Linked DNA regions of Homo sapiens: all the other regions are linked to region 1. Evidence: promoter capture Hi-C in human tissues and cell types (Jung and others, 2019). All regions are on one chromosome and are shown on one strand. The core of a region is centred on a gene start or on the middle of the fragment in contact, and the rest is flanking DNA. Distances in the headings are between cores, read along the strand shown. Region 1 holds the start of CEP192 (centrosomal protein 192). Region 2 overlaps LDLRAD4 (low density lipoprotein receptor class A domain containing 4). Region 3 overlaps LDLRAD4 (low density lipoprotein receptor class A domain containing 4). Region 4 overlaps LDLRAD4 (low density lipoprotein receptor class A domain containing 4).

Region 1 (2,901 bases), core at 363-2,862:
ATTTATAGAAAACTCTTCAACAGTTGTCCCTATTTAGAAGGGCCTAATCCAAAGAAAACTCAGAAATTATGCAAAGGTCATTCATGCAACATTCATTATCAAACACAAACCATGAAGAACCCTCTACTTGGCACCAAGAATGCAAAGATAAATAAGGCAGCTCCCCTCAGGGAGCTGACAATCCCTGTCAACTACGATAGTGTTAAGTGCTTCAACAGAGCTTTGCTAAGGGTGCAAAGGTAACAAAACCCACGGGAAGATTCCTCAAGATGTAACCTAATACCTAGTCTCTTCTCCAGAAAAGATTACACTTGTAAACCATTCATGGACATAACACATTCCTAAAGGAAATTTCCTTTAATTTCTCACATTATTGCATTACCCACCCCTCCTCCATCATCTCAAGTGAAGACAATATTTTTCTTCTATCCTATTTGAACTGAGTGGCTATATTTGCAATTTCTCTTGCTATTTCCTTAAAGTAGTGACCTCAAATTTCACATCTGGACTCACTAATTACATTCCTAGGTACATAAAAGATTACTGACTATAGTCATTAATCGTAGGTCTATGTATACAATTAAACACATTTAAAAGCACACGCCGTGGAACCCAAAGCCGAGTCAAACTTCCCCAAAACTCATCATTTACTCTTGGCACTTTAAGATATACTTTAAAACTAGGTAGGCATTTGGTATATTATTGTTCAAGGCTTGCCGTTTTTGCCTAGAAAACTGAAATTTGGAGAAAAAGTTGATTTTGGAGCAGTAAAAACGCCAGTCGAATGACCTCAAAATAGTAAGAGCAAATGGAAATATGGTCATATAAACAGCTGTTCTCCAAACGACTGACTTGAAGAGGTCCTCATGTTTTACTAAACAAACTCTGAAAGTAACAGCAAAGTAAAAGTAGAGTGTATTAACATTCGTCTCATTTCACGTTCTGTTGATAATGAAATCATAGGCAAGGAATGTAGGTAAACTATTAGGAATAAATGAACGCAACCTAGCAGAAACCAAATCAAGTGAGTAAACGGAAGACAAGGGCATTAAGTTAAGTTAACAAGGTTACTTCCTGGGTCAGAATTTTAAACAAAAAGGAGGAACAGAACCGCCCATCACAGGGCACATAAAGGAAACATCACCGGTCACTTCACAAGCACACTGCAAGAAACTCCAGAGGGTAGCACGGAGAGGGCCTGTCCCTCAAGAGGTGGAAGTCCCCAGACAAGAGGGGAGGAAAGAAGGACGTGATCCCCTAACAGTCTGTCTCATCACGCCCGGCCAAAGCCCGATGACACAGAGGCGTGCAATTAATCCCAACCAGGCGGAGCTCAGCTCAGAGGCTGCGCCAGGCGCAGAGGCGCGGGAAGCGCGGCAGTCCCCTTGCTCGCGCCCTGAGGCCGCCCCACAGCCTGCGCCCCCACCCGGCCCAACCGTCACTGTCCCGTCGGTCCGGCAGCCGAAACGTAGGCCAAAGGTGCATGCGTCTGCCTCCCGCCTAGGCGCAGGCCGAGGCACCAGCGTCCCCCCTCACCGAGCCCGCGTCCCCGACTTCGGAGGGCAGTGTGCAGCGGGAAAGTCCACGGACTGAAGAGGTGTCCCAGGGCACTGCAAGTGCGCGTGCGCGTGGCCCCCGCACCGGCTGGAGCCCGGAACGGCCGTACCGCGCCCGCCTCTGGTTTACGTCTGTTCGCGGCACCAGGCAAGGGGAGGAGACTGAGCTGGCTTTTGATTGGACAGCGGGAAGACATGGGGCGGGAAGAAGCCCGGTGATTGGTGGGGACAGCGCGTTCCTGGATTTGAAGCGAGGAAGCCGCGCGCCCTGCGAGTCCGGAGGAGGAAATGGAGCTCTGCGCTGCGTGGGACCCGGGGGACGGCTCCCGTTGGCGCCGCCTTCAAGGTCTTGGCGAATTTGAAAATAATGCTTACTTTATTCAGTTTGGGTCTCCAGGGCACCGCCAGTCACTCTATGCGCAAAGAAGTATCCCCCGCCAACAAATCCCCCCCGATAGGTTTCGTCCTTCCGTGGGCAGATGCAGACCTTTCCTGTTGGTAGGCGCTGAAAGGCGTCAGGTTTCACCTTCAATCAGCTAATTCCTCGGGATCCAAGTTTCATGACATTTCGCCACATCTAGTCGCCTCTTTGTGACAGAGTAGGCTTTGTCTCGATTGCTTCCTACTTTTCTCCATCCTTCTTAGGCCACAAAACCCATCACCGCCATCTGCTCGGCACAGGCCCTTAACTACTTCACTGAGACCATGCCTTTCACTCAAAATGTATCTCAGTCTTTTTCAGTAAGGTCCCTTATCTCAAAATTTATTCCATATAGTCACAGAGGGAAAAGAGTCCCTCTTTTCCAAAGCTAACTCCTTAACTTCGTTCAAGTTACTGAAAGATGTCCGGCGCACCTTGGAGGAAAGAAGAGGGAAAACGCAAAGTTTAGAAGTCCCTAGACCTGAGGTTACTTGGTGGGGAAAGACGTCTGTTTACTTGACCACTTTCTACCTCCTGCAAACATGGCTCACCTGTCATTCTTGGATATCCTCTCCACTGGTTTCCTTCTCTCTGCCTACAAAAATGCAGCACCTCTCTACCCAAACACACACACCACACACCCATACACCACACACACCACTCACACCACAAACCACACACACCCACATATGCACCACACACACGTGTGTGACACGTATACACACATCCATACACAACACACACCCACATACACATCACCCACACACCACACACACCCTCCACACACAAACACCACTCAAACCACACACCCACACACACCCCTTCCTTGATTCTGTTTCATCACCTAATGACCATTCTTGTTTCCTTCCCTTAATGGTCTCCACTTTTTTTTCCATAGAGGAAGCCAGGCTTCCACTTTTTACA
Region 2 (2,946 bases), core at 180-2,679, 540 kb before region 1:
TTATTGTTTAATGAAGGTACTAGGGTAATTCAATGGGGGAAAAGATGGCCTTTTCACCAAATGGAGCTGAAACAATTGTATCTTTATTTCAAAAAGTGAACTTGACTCTTAACTCATACCATATCCACAAATTAACTTGATAGGATCATAGAACTAAACATAAAAGCTGAAACTGTTAAACTTATAGAAGAAAACATGGGAGAAAATCTTTGTGACATTAGGTTGGGCAAAGATTTCTTAAACAGGACATGAAATCCACAATTTATATAAGAAAAATTATGAAATGGACCTCATACAAATAAAAAGCTCTTCATCTTTGAAAACAGCTAAGAAAAACAAAAAACAAACCACAGACTAGGAGAAAATATTTGCGGAAAATATATATCTAACAAAAAGTTTGTATTCAAAACATATATAGTTTTCTTACAAATCAATAGACAACCCAATAAAAAATGTGCAAAAGATTTAAAACAACATATCACAAAAGTAAAGACACAGATAAGCAAGAGGGACATAAAGAGATGCTCAACATCACTAGTCATGAGGGAAATGCATATTCAAACAACAGTAAGATGCACTACACAACCACCAGAATGACTAAAGGTAAAAGGACTGATAATATCAAGTGTTGATGAGAATGTGGCTCAATCAGAACCCCCATTCATTGCTGGCTGGAATACAAAATGTTAAAGCCACTTTGAAAACCAGTATAGCGTTACCCATTAAATTAAACACATATAACCCGGCCAGTCAACTCTCAGGTATTTAACAAAGAAAAATGAAAATATATGCCCACACAAAGACTTCTATGTGAATATTCACAGAAATATTATTTCTAATAGCCCCAAACTGGAAACAATGAACAGTTCCGTCAATGGATGAGTGGATGAACAGAGTAGGGTACATCCACACCATAGAACACTACTCAGCAGTACAACAGAATGAACCATGGAAACACACCATTATATGGATGAGTCTCAAAAACATAACCCTAAATGAAAGAAGCAAAACTGCAAGGATGACATAATGCATGTTTCTACTGTACTATATTCCAGAAGAGAAAAAAGTAGAGTGACAGCAGGTCCGAGGTGGCCTGGAGCCTGGGGTCGGGACTGGGGACTGGGTATCAAGGAACATGAGCCAACTTTTCAGGGAGATAAGACTGTTCTGTGACTGTGGTGTAGATTATGCAACTGTATGTCGTTACCAAAATTCATCGAACTCTTCACCAAAAGTGAGTAACTTTCACAGTATGTGAATTCTACCTCAGCAAAGCATACAAAAAGATGTCCCACAATAGATAGCAAATATCAAACATGAGTATAAGAAAGTACAGGGCACACCAGACAAATGCAGCCTCTCTCTCTTCTATGTGTTTATTTTGACTTTCTTTTTTTTTTTCTTTTTAGCAACAGGGTCTCTTCAAGAAAGATTATAAAGCCTTTTCGTCCTCTTTCTTAAAGCTTTCCTGTTGCAAGGTATGTTCCTTCAAACTGCAAAGGAATTTAAGAAAAACAACTCATTCAGTTAGGTTAAAAATGTAAATTAACATTCGTGTTTATGGGGGAAACACAGGGTGATTTAACAACAGGTCCCATTAAAAGTTTAGCCAGTTTTCTGAAAATAACATTTGACACATGCAGAGCATCTCCAAGAAGGCCAAATACCAAACGTACTCAGGCTGTGCAGTGAGCTCATTAGCCTTTAATTTAAAAAGTGTTGATATATTCATATGCAGGCCACATTAAAGAAAAAAAGTGAGAGTTACAGGGAAGTGCAGATAGGCACTGCCTTGAACCAATCGCCTATGAAACCTAAACAAGGTGGCAAAGTACAAAACCACCAGGAGTTTTTGTGGCAGAAGTGAGAAGGATATGGCTGGTTCCAACAATTCATAGGAAGCATCAGAAGGCAGGCAGCGTGGAGTGCCAGAAGACACACCTGGAGATTATTCCTGGGGGCTTAATGGGAAGGCAAGAGCTTCACGACCCTCTCAAGTTAAAATGCAATCTTAAAACTGCATTTTACATTGATGCATTTCATGGCATCATTCTATTTCACCTTTTGTCAAGTAGGAGAGCTGGGCAAGTCTCCCCGGTCCTTTACTGTTCAGTGAAAGGCACATCAGAGTCAAGAGAGAAACTTAAAAGTCCCTTTAATTCCCAGAGCAGAACCTTATTCACCTATTGAAGTAAGCCATTAAACTCAATTCAAAAATACCCATCTCATCCCTCCTTCTAACTATATACATAATGTGATATGTTTTAAAAGGCCTAAATGTAATTCAGATACATGGACTACTGCTTCATGGTAAGATTCAGTACATAATCACTTCCAAAACATCCATGGTAATGGGCAACTGGAGTACCGTTTGTAAGTACAATTTATATTTAAATCAAATCCACATGTTTAAACCAAATTCTTGCCAGGCACACTGAAAAATGTTACGGTTAATGCAAAGAATATGAAAAAAATTGGGATCATAAGCTAAGTGTAAATGCTTAATTCTATTTTGACTTTCTTCAAAATTAAGCCCTTTCTCCTTAAAATGCTCTAGTCCAAAGATCTGCTCATTGCAATGTTATTTTCTTTATCTTCCCTTTCTGGTTCTTCAAAGTGGTCATGAGGAGTTAAAAAGTAAATGTTTGACAGTAGTTGGGGACCAGAAATACATCAAAGTGACTGGGGTTTCAAGATGAAAAATCCATTGCAGCAACAAAAACATCTCTTTGTGGAGATACACAAGTTTATTCAGACAGAAGCCCTGTGACTTGAGCCCATCACTAGATGGTTGCTGTGAGGGGCAGGGACCTTGTCTATTGGTCGCTGGCTTATCCCTTAGCCCTGACACACAGTAGGTGCTCAGAAATTTGATGTATTAGTTAATGAAAAACAATGGGTAAATTAACTGGTATCTAACCCGAAGCAAGAAAACACTGGCACACT
Region 3 (2,726 bases), core at 33-2,532, 590 kb before region 1:
TCCTAATGGGCTTGAAAGGGGGAGTGGGAAACCAAATGTGCTTTGAAAAGATAATCTCCTGGAAGAGGAAGTCTGTATGAAGGCTTAATCAAATCTGGGGCAGAAGTTATGTTGCCAAAATTACTAATCATCAGAATGACCCTGCTTGCTCATTAGTGCATTAATAAGTGTGGCCACCCTTCACCTGAGCAGGCTGCTAATCTCCACGGTCAGGCATAATCCATTTCTTCTCCTCTCTCTTCACCTCAATATTAATGGCTTAGCAAAGACCCCTTTAAAAAAACAGAACCCAGAAGGCACTGTTATTTATCACCGAAGATAAATTCATGCAGCTTACAGTATTCATGCCAGAATAAAGAGAGCCAGTAACAGATTTGTTCCTGATGCATTAGAAATGAGCCCCAGTGACAAACTCCTGCTCTCTCCCCAGCAAAGCTGATGTATTGACTAGACAGGTAGATATGAGCTACTCAGGCTGTCTGGGTGCTATGGAAATCATGTCGAGTGCATTTGACCATCGGCAATGGGGCCAGACACGCATGAGGCTCATTCTTATTCCAGCCAGGGAAAAGGCCTCGTCTGCATTTGCCTTTTGCTGAAAGGCTGCCATATTTGTCAGCTCAGACGCGTGTAAGATAAGCTCTGTCCTCGTTATCTAATATTTCACCAGGCAGTGGAACCGAAGGATAAGGACACCCTAATTGCCTACGTGGGCAGCAAAGCTTGAGTGCTGTCAGGCCCAGCACGAAGCCTGGAGCCTGGACAAGAGGAAGTTTACCGCAGAAGTTAATCACTTCATTTGGAAGGAAAGCCCTGAAGGATTTGGACAATTATGGTTTATCCTGGTTCTACAGTGTATCAGGAGACAGATCCAAAGTTCTCACTGCAGAATAATCTTCAGACAACTTGCCTTTCTTCCCCACAGCACACTCTTAACTTAAATTTACCCTAGGATTAAGCACAATAAGAAGTGGTAATATGGAATTATTTGTGCACAGTTAACAAGAAATGAGTATGAGAAAAGACAGGTTTTGTAGCCATCCCTCCACCGAGCCATCCTATGATTCCTCCATTGGCTAAGTCTTCCTGGGCGCCAGGTGCAGTGCTAGTCACCGAGGGGAACAACACGGATGAGCTCCTGTTCTCAGACAAGCTGGAAGTGTCTGGGAAGGAAGAGGAGACAGATAGCAGATAGCTACAAACCAGCTGGGCAGGGCTATCACAGAATCATCACAGCTCAGCTCAGGAGAGGAGAGGAAGCGCCAAGCAGTGGGAAGAAGAGAGAGTGGAAGAAGGCTTCCTGTAGGAGGTGGCCACTCATCTGAGTCTTAAGGGATAAGTAATAATTAGTCAGATGACAGAAAGAGGGGACAAGATTCCAGGGGGAAAGACTGTCATGAAGCAGAGGTTAAGAGATGACAGAGCACAGTGTGTCTGGGACAACCCTAAGCAATTGGAGTCCAGGGCATTATGACGATGAAGAGACCAAGGCAGGCAGAGGCAGACGCCGGTCACAGGCTTTCCCCTGTGGCCCCAGAGCACTGAAGGGTGATGGGAGGCAACGTGGCTTCGGGTGGGCCGGGCTCACCTGCACTCTCAGCAAGATGGGTGTGGGAGATGGGCTAAGGGCGGTGGTGGTCCTCAAGGGAAGCCAGGCTGAGGCTGCGGAGATGGGAAGGGCACGGCAGGCCTGTAGGCAGCTGGGGGAGCAGGGCGAGGTGACCCCGCTCTGTGAGTGGCAGAAAGTGCTCGCAGGTTCCATTCTCTTCCCTCTGAGCCTGACATTCATTAAGCCCTGCCATGCCAGAACTGTGAAAGGCAAAGCGAGAGACACAACAATAAGACTCCGCCAGCAGTGGGGAGCCGCAGCGCCCTGGCTCGGTGACTCAAGCAGGCTTCGGCGCGGCCGGGCCCCCCAACACTACTTGTCAGTGAATGAAAGAGTGAAAACCACACCCTGGTCAAGCCACCGAGCCTCTTTTACTCTAACTTCATATCTTTTGGCAAATATCAATCTTTCTTAAAATTTAATTTATCAGTTGAACGTGGTGATATTATGTTCCTCTAAATATCTCAGCGGCCAAACTCGTTTCTTTCTTTTTGGAACTCTAATAACACTTATTTTTTACAACTCATTTAAAGTTCCCAATCCCATGCATTCTAGTACTACTAACTAGATCTTAGGCATCTCAAAGTTGGTGCCGTGACCACCACGTCCCTCCCCTAGGTCTCGGTAACAAAAGTCAGTCACCACACACGTGGCCATCAGGAGGCCGCCCCAGTCTGTCAGCCATCCTCTCTCCACCTCACCTTGTCATCTGCAGATTTAGACTACAAATATTGCCCTAACAATTTCACAGTGTTTTAGAAAAAAATGAGAGAATATAAAAGAAATACTAAAATATTAAATTACATGTATTTATATATAATTTTGTACTAATATTACAAAAGCTTCTAATTTTTTGGATAGCATCTAGTCCACTGTGGCTAGTAAATAAATTTTAAAATAAGAGCTATAATTCACAGTCTTATGGTGCGGGTGAAATAATCAAAAAGACCCAGAGACCAAAAAGAGCTCTTCAGCATGGAAACCTATTAAGGTTTGATTCAGATGAGTATACAAGCAAGACGCGGTGGCTCACCCCTATAATCCCAGCACACTGGGAAGCTGAGGTGGGAAGATCACTTGAGGCCAGAGTTGGAGACAAGCCTGGGCAACATAGCAA
Region 4 (3,045 bases), core at 334-2,833, 610 kb before region 1:
AGCTCTGGAAGTGCATAGAGACCATTTAAGTGGACCATCAGGAAAGAACTTCTTCACTCCTCAGGGAAGATGGTCCTAGAAACAAACTGTACCACCAGGCAATTTTCCTTTATGTTAAAGTAAACCTGTGTTCTGGAAATTTAAGGTTATTGTCTTTTATCCTTTTCCTTATCTTGGGCCCTAAAAAGACGAAGTTTCTGCTTCTGTAATAGAGTATAAAAAGGTACTTTAAAAACTTAAATATTTATAAAAATCAGAGTTTTCTAGAATAAAAGCTCCCTCAACACTTTTCTTTTTCACTGTTTTAAATTTGTTATGTCCATAGCCTTTCTTTTCTTTCTGACTGAAAACATATAGCGATGTCCTCCCATTAAATGTCCTCTCCAATAGGATTCCTTGGAACCTGTTCCAATGCTGAAAGCCATGATGTGCCTGGAGGGATTGCTTAGTTCAATATTTTACTTATTTGTGACTTGAAAAAGTACTGAAATGACAAATTTTTATTTGTTTTTTAATTTCTAGTTTTTCTTCTTTTTATTTTTTAAATAAAAAATTAGGCCGGGCACAGTGGCTCACACCTGTAATCTTAACACTTTGGGAGGCCAAGGTGGGCAGATCACTTAAGGTCAGAAGTTCGAGACCAGCCTGGCCAATATGTTGAAACCCAGACTCTACTAAAAATACAAAAATTAGTTAGAAATTCCTTGAACCCGGGAGGCGGAGGTTGCAATGAGCTGAGATTGTGCCACTCCACTCCAGCCTGGGTGACAGAGTGAGACTCCATCTCAAAAAAAAAAAAAAAAAAAAAAATTAAATGCCATGGTTTAAGAATGATGTCTGATAAAATTCCCCCCATCCCACCACCAATGATGATTCCCAAAGCAACCAATATACTGCTTTGGGAAGGATGTGGATTTGCAGTCAGATATCCTGGGTTGAAATTCTAACCCCTACTAAACTGTCTGATACGATCAAGTTCTTTTTTACTTTTAGTATCAGGTTCGGGGGTACATGTGCAGGTTTGATACAAGGTTATACTGCATGCTGCTGGGGCTTGTGCTTCTATTGATCTTGTCTCCAAGACAGTGAGCATAATACCCGATAGGAAGTTTTTCAGCCCTTTCCCACCTCTCTCCTTCCTTCCTTTTGGAGTCCCCAGTTTCTATTGTTCCCATTTCTATGTCCATGAGTATCCAGTGCTTAGCTTCCATGTATAAGTGAGAAAATACTTATATTTACTTTTTCTGTTTCTGCATTAATTCACTTAGAATAATGGCCTCCGGCTGCATCCATGTTTCTGCAAAGGACATGATTTCATTCTTTTTCACAGCTGTGTAGTACTTCATGGTGCATATGTACCACATTTTCTTCATCCACTACGGATGGACATCTAGGTTGATTCCATGTCTTTGCTATTGTGAACAAGTGCTACAATAAATATACAGGTGCAAGTGTCTTTTTGGTAGACTGATTTATTTTCCTTTGGGCATATATCCAGTAGTGGGATTGCTGGGTGGAATGGTAGTTCTATTTTCAGTTCTTTGAGAAATCTCCAAACTGCATTCTATAGTGGCTGAACTAACTTGCATTTCCACCAAGAGTGTGTAAGTGTTCCCTTTTCTTTTCCTTTTTTTTTCTTTTTTTTTTTTTCAGACAGAGTCTCACTCTGTCGCCCAGGCTGGAGTGCCGTGGCGCAATCTTGGCTCACTGCAAGCTCCGCCTCCCGGGTTCATGCCATTCTCCTGCCTCAGCCTCCCGAGTAGCTGGGACTACAGGCGCCCGCCACCATGCCCGGAAGTGTTCCCTTTTCTCTGCAGCCTCGTCAATATCTGTTATTTTTTGTCTTTTTAATAATAGCTGTTTTGACTGCTGTGAGGTGGTCACTGTGGTTTTGATTTGCATTTCTCTTATGGTTAGTGATGTTGAGCATTTTTTCCTATGTTTGTTGGTCACTTGTAAGTCTTCTTTTGAGAAGTGTTTGTTCATGTCCTTTGCCCAGTTTTTAGTGGGGTTATTTGTTTTATTCTCATTGATTTGTTTACATTCCTCATAGATTTTGGATAAATGATCATTGTTAAATGCATTATAACATCAGATTTCTGCGTTTAAAATATTTCTACAGGGCTGACAAATGGAAACATGACAAACTTAGCTGTGAATGTGAGGCCCCTGGTTAACCAGAGATAATGGAGATGGATCGACTGGACTTTATGATGACACCTTGCCACCATGAAATGGACAGAAGCCAAAGGGTTAGGAGAACAGGTGCCCATCCTCCCTAAAGGCCTGATAGTGCCTTTTATGCAGATAAGGAGAAACATGGTCTTGTTTTGATTAAAAATGACCTTAATTAAGTCTGTTATTCTCAACATAGTAAATACCCACAGCAGGAAAGCAAATACAGTAAAATAGAGTGTTAATAATAAAAATGTAGAGTCCTCATAGAAGGAATGCTACTCTGGCAGAAACCCATCTAATTTTGGTTATACAAATAAAAGTAATTTTAAAAAAATTTACAAGCTTAGAAATGGTAATACTGCAAATACCTTTACAATTTTGTTTCCTATAATATACCTTACAGAAAAATTTTCCAAACCAGTCTATCACCATTCATCCTCTGAGAGGCAGAAATCCTGGCAAAGGTTGGCTGCAGGGTGGCAATTTGGTCACACATGGTCTTCTTGGTGATTTTTAGCTCAAACAGACAAAACAGCAAATGGCGAACCTTGATCAGACTCCAGCTGAATGCCCTGGAAGTCTTAGGCTACAGATTCTGTCTGCTGTCATTATGCCTGGAACATTTTGGCTTTAGTGACTCTTGATGCAGTTGGATGCTGGTCAGGAGACCCAGGGTCTAGTGCCACCTGTCCTGCTAGCTGAAAGTGACATCTTGAGTCACACAGCTGTGCAGTCCTCACATGTCTCATTTCATTGCTAGGACCAAATCAATGTCTTGCACACTTCAGTCCAAGTCCTTCAAGTCCCACCCTAAGGATTCTTAAAATACCTGCACTCCACATGTTCTATTATTTATTTAATATTGAT

What was found. Contacts are between HindIII fragments. The study calls those that stand out against the background at their distance.
Region 2: a fragment that was not itself captured here is called in contact with the fragment with the promoter of CEP192 in region 1 in 1 of the 25 tissues and cell types used here (dorsolateral prefrontal cortex).
Region 3: a contact is called between a fragment that was not itself captured here and the fragment with the promoter of CEP192 in region 1, in 1 of the 25 tissues and cell types used here (dorsolateral prefrontal cortex).
Region 4: a contact is called between a fragment that was not itself captured here and the fragment with the promoter of CEP192 in region 1, in 1 of the 25 tissues and cell types used here (dorsolateral prefrontal cortex).

The regions. Positions count from the first base shown.
Region 1 is chr18:12,990,073-12,992,973 of GRCh38, reverse strand. CEP192 (centrosomal protein 192) reads right to left here and starts at 1,612. Exons shown (of 45, transcript NM_032142.4): 1 at 1,537-1,612. RefSeq lists a silencer at 1,351-1,430 and enhancers at 1,911-2,290, 2,681-2,901. The HindIII fragment of the contact is 10,836 bases long and covers 1-2,901 here.
Region 2 is chr18:13,533,008-13,535,953 of GRCh38, reverse strand. All of the region lies in intron 4 of LDLRAD4 (low density lipoprotein receptor class A domain containing 4), which reads right to left. Among named protein-coding and RNA genes, the nearest start is that of LDLRAD4-AS3, 63 kb to the right of the region's middle. The HindIII fragment of the contact is 4,596 bases long and covers 1-2,946 here.
Region 3 is chr18:13,582,912-13,585,637 of GRCh38, reverse strand. The region is part of intron 4 of LDLRAD4 (low density lipoprotein receptor class A domain containing 4); the gene reads right to left. Among named protein-coding and RNA genes, the nearest start is that of MIR4526, 27 kb to the left of the region's middle. The HindIII fragment of the contact is 4,344 bases long and covers 1-2,726 here.
Region 4 is chr18:13,600,259-13,603,303 of GRCh38, reverse strand. All of the region lies in intron 4 of LDLRAD4 (low density lipoprotein receptor class A domain containing 4), which reads right to left. Among named protein-coding and RNA genes, the nearest start is that of MIR4526, 9.3 kb to the left of the region's middle. The HindIII fragment of the contact is 8,354 bases long and covers 1-3,045 here.